Regions from separate parts of the Homo sapiens genome. Here region 2 is linked to region 1. Evidence: promoter capture Hi-C in 16 types of primary human blood cells and fetal thymus (Javierre and others, 2016). All regions are on one chromosome and are shown on one strand. The core of a region is centred on a gene start or on the middle of the fragment in contact, and the rest is flanking DNA. Distances in the headings are between cores, read along the strand shown.

Region 1 (2,911 bases), core at 299-2,798:
ACCCCACATGTGAGCACCACGGCCACGACACCCACAGTCACCAGCTCCAAAGCCACTCCCTTCTCCAGTCCAGGGACTGCAACCGCCCTTCCAGCACTGAGAAGCACAGCCACCACACCCACAGCTACCAGCTTTACAGCCATCCCCTCCTCCTCCCTGGGCACCACCTGGACCCGCCTATCACAGACCACCACACCCACGGCCACCATGTCCACAGCCACACCCTCCTCCACTCCAGAGACTGCCCACACCTCCACAGTGCTTACCACCACGGCCACCACAACCAGGGCCACCGGCTCTGTGGCCACCCCCTCTTCCACCCCAGGAACAGCTCACACTACCAAAGTGCCGACTACCACAACCACGGGCTTCACAGTCACCCCCTCCTCCAGCCCAGGGACGGCACGCACGCCTCCAGTGTGGATCAGCACAACCACCACACCCACAACCAGTGGCTCCACGGTGACCCCCTCCTCCGTCCCGGGGACCACCCACACCCCCACAGTGCTGACCACCACCACCACAACTGTGGCCACTGGTTCTATGGCAACACCCTCCTCTAGCACACAGACCAGTGGTACTCCCCCATCACTGATCACCACGGCCACTACGATCACGGCCACCGGCTCCACCACCAACCCCTCCTCAACTCCAGGGACAACACCTATCCCCCCAGTGCTGACCACCACCGCCACCACACCTGCAGCCACCAGCAGCACAGTGACTCCCTCCTCTGCCCTAGGGACCACCCACACACCCCCAGTGCCGAACACCACGGCCACCACACACGGGCGATCCCTGTCCCCCAGCAGTCCCCACACGGTGCGCACAGCCTGGACTTCGGCCACCTCAGGCACCTTGGGCACCACCCACATCACAGAGCCTTCCACGGGGACTTCCCACACCCCAGCAGCAACCACCGGTACCACCCAGCACTCGACTCCAGCCCTGTCCAGCCCTCACCCTAGCAGCAGGACCACCGAGTCACCCCCTTCCCCAGGGACGACCACCCCGGGCCACACCACGGCCACCTCCAGGACCACGGCCACGGCCACACCCAGCAAGACCCGCACCTCGACCCTGCTGCCCAGCAGCCCCACATCGGCCCCCATAACCACGGTGGTGACCACGGGCTGTGAGCCCCAGTGTGCCTGGTCAGAGTGGCTGGACTACAGCTACCCCATGCCGGGGCCCTCTGGCGGGGACTTTGACACCTACTCCAACATCCGTGCGGCCGGAGGGGCCGTCTGTGAGCAGCCCCTGGGCCTCGAGTGCCGTGCCCAGGCCCAGCCTGGTGTCCCCCTGGGGGAGTTGGGCCAGGTCGTGGAATGCAGCCTGGACTTTGGCCTGGTCTGCAGGAACCGTGAGCAGGTGGGGAAGTTCAAGATGTGCTTCAACTATGAAATCCGTGTGTTCTGCTGCAACTACGGCCACTGCCCCAGCACCCCGGCCACCAGCTCTACGGCCATGCCCTCCTCCACTCCGGGGACGACCTGGATCCTCACAGAGCTGACCACAACAGCCACTACGACTGCATCCACTGGATCCACGGCCACCCCGTCCTCCACCCCGGGAACAGCTCCCCCTCCCAAAGTGCTGACCAGCCCGGCCACCACACCCACAGCCACCAGTTCCAAAGCCACTTCCTCCTCCAGTCCAAGGACTGCAACCACCCTTCCAGTGCTGACAAGCACAGCCACCAAATCCACAGCTACCAGCGTTACACCCATCCCCTCCTCCACCCTTGGGACCACCGGGACCCTCCCAGAACAGACCACCACACCCGTGGCCACCATGTCCACAATCCACCCCTCCTCCACTCCGGAGACCACCCACACCTCCACAGTGCTGACCACGAAGGCCACCACGACAAGGGCCACCAGTTCCACGTCCACCCCCTCCTCCACTCCGGGGACGACCTGGATCCTCACAGAGCTGACCACAGCAGCCACTACAACTGCAGCCACTGGCCCCACGGCCACCCCGTCCTCCACCCCAGGGACCACCTGGATCCTCACAGAGCTGACCACAACAGCCACTACGACTGCGTCCACTGGATCCACGGCCACCCCGTCCTCCACCCCAGGGACCACCTGGATCCTCACAGAGCCGAGCACTACAGCCACCGTGACGGTGCCCACCGGATCCACGGCCACCGCCTCCTCCACCCAGGCAACTGCTGGCACCCCACATGTGAGCACCACGGCCACGACACCCACAGTCACCAGCTCCAAAGCCACTCCCTCCTCCAGTCCAGGGACTGCAACTGCCCTTCCAGCACTGAGAAGCACAGCCACCACACCCACAGCTACCAGCTTTACAGCCATCCCCTCCTCCTCCCTGGGCACCACCTGGACCCGCCTATCACAGACCACCACACCCACGGCCACCATGTCCACAGCCACACCCTCCTCCACTCCAGAGACTGTCCACACCTCCACAGTGCTTACCGCCACGGCCACCACAACCGGGGCCACCGGCTCTGTGGCCACCCCCTCCTCCACCCCAGGAACAGCTCACACTACCAAAGTGCCGACTACCACAACCACGGGCTTCACAGCCACCCCCTCCTCCAGCCCAGGGACGGCACTCACGCCTCCAGTGTGGATCAGCACAACCACCACACCCACAACCACCACACCCACAACCAGTGGCTCCACGGTGACCCCCTCCTCCATCCCGGGGACCACCCACACCGCCAGAGTGCTGACCACCACCACCACAACTGTGGCCACTGGTTCTATGGCAACACCCTCCTCTAGCACACAGACCAGTGGTACTCCCCCATCACTGACCACCACGGCCACTACGATCACGGCCACCGGCTCCACCACCAACCCCTCCTCAACTCCAGGGACAACACCCATCACCCCAGTGCTGACCAGCACGGCCACCACACCCGCAGCCACCA
Region 2 (4,305 bases), core at 532-3,031, 240 kb after region 1:
GCAGGGGTTCCCCTGAGGTCTCCAGCCCACCCCTGCAGCCATCACTGCCTGGACCACACTGGCCCCTCCACTTGCTCGTCTGTAGCCTCCCCTCCAACAAGGAGACTCGTGGAGAGCTTCGTGTTTTTAATCACTTTGTGAAAACAACAGAAGAAGGAGCTCAAAAGCTACGGAAGCAGCAAAACAATGCCCCCGGCACCCTCACAAAGGCACAGGGAAAGTGGGGTCACTTAAAAGCAAGCAGGAAAGTTTCACAGTTGAGTCCAATGAAAATCAAGAAGAATAGAGGAGAGTAACACTCTCCCACTGACAATTAAAACATCCCAGAAAGACACACACATAACACAGACGAAATCACACAACACAGATGAAGACACACAACACAGACGAAGACATACACATAACACAGGCAGAGACACACAACACAGACGAAGACATACATATAACACAGGCGGAGACACACAACACAGACAAAGACACACAACACAGACGAAGATATACAACACAGCCGAAGACACACACATAACACAGGTGAAGACACACAACACAGACGAAGACACACAACACAGACGAAGACACAACACAGATGAAGACACACACATTAACACAGGTGAAGACACACAACACAGGTGAAGACATACAACAGATGAAGACGCACAACACAGACGAAGACACGCGCATAACAGATGAAGACACACAAAGACACACAACACAGACGAAGACACACAACACAGATGACACAGAACACAGATGAAGACACACAACAAAGATGAAGACACAACACAGATGAAGACACATAACACAGATGAAGACTACAACCCAATAAGACAATCAGGGAAACAATGCAATTTAAGAAAATATTTGAGGCCAGGTGCAGTGGCTCATGCCTGTAATCCCAGCACTTTGGGAGGCTGAGGCAGGTGGATCACCTGAGGTCAGGAGTTCAAGACCAGCCTGGCCAACAAGGTGAAACTCTGTCTCTACTAAAAATACAAAAATTAGCTGGGCGTGGTGGCAGGCGCTTGTAATCCCAGCTACTTGGGAGGCTGAGGCAGAAGAATCGCTTGAACCCAGGAGATGGACGTTGCAGTGAGCCGAGATTGCACCATTGCGCTCCAGCCTGGGGGAGAAGAGCGAGACTTTGTCTCAAAAAAGAAAAGAAAAAAGAAAAAGAAAATATTTGAAAAAAGAGGCAAAATAAGAATCAGGAATGAGAGGATAAACCATTTTTGAAATGAAGTCTAAATTAGAATACAAAAACCACCATGATGTCCAAGTAGAAGATGGGAAGGAAGAATTTCTTAAAATAATAAAGGAAAGAAGAGATTTCTGCTTCCACTCATGACAGAGTAACTGACACTGGACCTCACCTCCACTGTCAACAACTACAAACTGGGTAGAATATATGAAGTGCTTGGCTTCAGACCCAGGATACCGCCGTGCAGGACGGTGGCCCCTGCGCACAGGCGATGACTGGGAGCCTCTCAGGCTGCAGGTGGGGATGGTGAAACCACATGGGGCCTGCAGTCTGGAGAAGCTGAGGTGGCAGGGATGGAAGTCTCAAGCCGCTGAGCTGTTGAAATTTGCAGGATGAGGAGGCAGTCAGGACAGAGCTGCACAGAGAAGGGACTCTAAAAACATCAACAGGGATCCAAGGAAGCTTCTGGACAAATAGCTGAGGGTGTCAGAGAGAACATCTGCAAGACCTGGCAGAGAACAGCTCTGGGAAGCGTGAGGAAGAGAGGTTCTGGAGGCCACACGGGGCAGGAGACAGACGTGTTCCCACACCCAGACTGGAGACACCTTGGGCGAATAGATTTAACAGAGATTCCACAATGGCTGTGCCATGGGGACTGGGCTACAATAGCCCAGAGTGAGGGGGTTCTCTGGACCTGGCATAATAAAGCTTAAAAACAAGCCTCAAACGGATCCTAGCTAACCAAGAGCAAATTAACTGCCTTCCAGAACAAACCACACTACTCTTTAAGGGAGGAAAACAGAACTGAGACTTTCAACAACATTGCTACCACAATACCTAGTGTACAAAAAAATTACTAGACAGGTGAAGCAGAAAAATGTAACTCATAACCAGGAAAAATAAGTCAACAGAAACAGGCCTAGAGATAACAAAGATAATGAAAGTAACAAACAAAGACTTTAAAAGAATGAAATAAATATATTCAACGATTTATTTATTTATTTAGACAGTGTCCTCTATTGCCCGGGCTGGAGTGCAGTGGCACAATCTCGGCTCACTGCAACCTCTGTCTCCCAAGTGATTCTCCTGCCTCAGCCTCCAGAGCAGCTGGGATTACAGGCGAACGCCACCAAGCACAGCTAATTTTTGTATTTTTGTAGAGATGAGGTTTCACCATGTTGGCTACGCTGGTCTCAAACTCCTCACCTAAAGTAATCTGTCCGCCTTGGCCTCCCAAAAGTGCTGGGATTACTGGCATGAGACATTGTGCCCGGCCAATATATCCAAAGATTTAGAGGAAAGGTTGGACATAATCAACAAAGCAATTAGGGCTCTGAAAAAATCGGAAACTCCACAAAATAATAAACAAAAATTCCTGGAACTGAAGAATACATCGAAAATGAAATTTTTGAGATGAAATGAACATCAGATTAAACAGTGCTAAAGAGAAGATTACAATAAAAACATCACTTATAAAAATGTGTAGAATGCAGCTAAAGCTCAGCTGAGGAAGAAATTTATAAATGTTCATATTAGGAGAGAAGGCTTAAAATGAGTGATTCATACATCCACCTTCAGAAGCCAGAAAAAGGAAGTGCATATTAAATGCAAAGTGGAAGGAAATAACAGAAATCTATGAAATGAAAAATAGACAAATAATGAAGAATTAAACACAAAGTTAGCCTGGAAAACTTAAAAAAAAAAAAAGATCAATTTCCCAAGCAGACTAAGCAGAAAAGAGACAGAGAGCCAAGAGAGGAAGAGGGCATAAATTACCGATATCAGAAATGAAAGGGACATTCCTACAGATCCTACAGATATTAAGCGGGTAACAAAGCACTATAAGGAACTGAATGCCAAGAGAAAATGTAGATGAAACAGACAAATTTTTCACAAACACAAGCTACCAAAACTGACATACAAAGAAGTAGAAAATCTGAATTTATAATTAAAAATCTTTCTACAAGGAAATGGTGGGTGCAGGTGGCTTACGGATGAACTCTACACACGATATAAGTAAGAAATAATACAAACCATACACATACTCTTTCAGAAAACAGAGGAGGAGGACCAGCATAATGCTGCTGCCAAAGTGAGACAACAGCATTCCTAGAAAAGGGAAATTACAGCCCAATATCCTTCATGAATGTGGATGCAAAACTCTGTAATAAAATAGTAACAAACTAATTCAACAACGTATTGAAAGGATAATACAGCATAGCCAAGAGAGATTCACCCAGTAATGTAAGCTTAGCTAACACCTGAAAATCAATGTCATTCACCACATTAATGAAAGGAGAAAAAAATATGGCCATCTCAATTAGATGCAGACACAGCACATGGCAAAACGTGTATGCAAACTCTCAGCAAACCAGGAACAGAAGGGACCATCCTCAGCTGAGAAAGGACACCTATAAAAAATCTGAAGCTAACATCAAATGCTGCTGATGGAGTAAAGATTTTCCCCCTAAAATCAGAAACAAGGAAGGGGCTCTGAGCACTTCTCACTCTCACCACTCTTATTCGGTGTCACTCTTATACCAGCGGCACAATGAGGCCACTGTAATGAGGCAAGACAAAGGTATACAAGGCATAAATACTGGAAAGGAAAAGGTCGTCTTGTTTGGCAGGTAACATGGTTATGTAAACAGAAAAGTCTAAGGAAACTGGGGCAAGTCTGCTAGAACTAATAAGTAAATTTAGTGGCATCACAGGGCACAAGGTCAGTAAAGAAAATTAATTTTATTCCTATATAATAGCAACAAATAAATGGAAAATACAATTATAAAACTGCTATTTACAATATAATTTTTAAATTTAGGAATAATCTTAACACAAATGTACAAAGCCTCTCACTGAAAAGCACAAAACAATGCTGAGAAAAATTAAAGACCTAAACACATAAAAAAATTTGCCATGGCCATGGATTAGAAGACTCAATATTGTTAAGATGTCAATTTTCTTAATTAAATACAATCCTATCAAAATCCCGGGATAATTTCTTATTTTTAAAAGAAATTAACAAGAAGATTCTTGGTTTTTTGTTTGTTTTTTGTTTGTTTGTTTTGAGACGGAGTTTCACTCTTCTTACCCAGGCTAGAGTGCAA

Evidence for each region. The method cuts DNA at HindIII sites, captures the fragments that hold promoters and counts their contacts. A CHiCAGO score of 5 or more calls a contact.
Region 2: a fragment that was not itself captured here is called in contact with the fragment with the promoter of MUC5B-AS1 in region 1 in 1 of 17 cell types (M0 macrophages); the score reaches 5.1 in M0 macrophages.

What each region holds. Positions count from the first base shown.
Region 1 is chr11:1,248,128-1,251,038 of GRCh38, forward strand. MUC5B-AS1 (MUC5B antisense RNA 1) reads right to left here and starts at 1,549. Exons shown (of 2, transcript NR_157183.1): 1 at 1,494-1,549. It overlaps MUC5B (mucin 5B, oligomeric mucus/gel-forming), which reads left to right. Exons shown (of 49, transcript NM_002458.3): 31 at 1-2,911. The HindIII fragment of the contact is 25,137 bases long and covers 1-2,911 here.
Region 2 is chr11:1,491,066-1,495,370 of GRCh38, forward strand. No RefSeq gene overlaps it. Among named protein-coding and RNA genes, the nearest start is that of MOB2, 6.4 kb to the left of the region's middle. The HindIII fragment of the contact is 246 bases long and covers 1,659-1,904 here.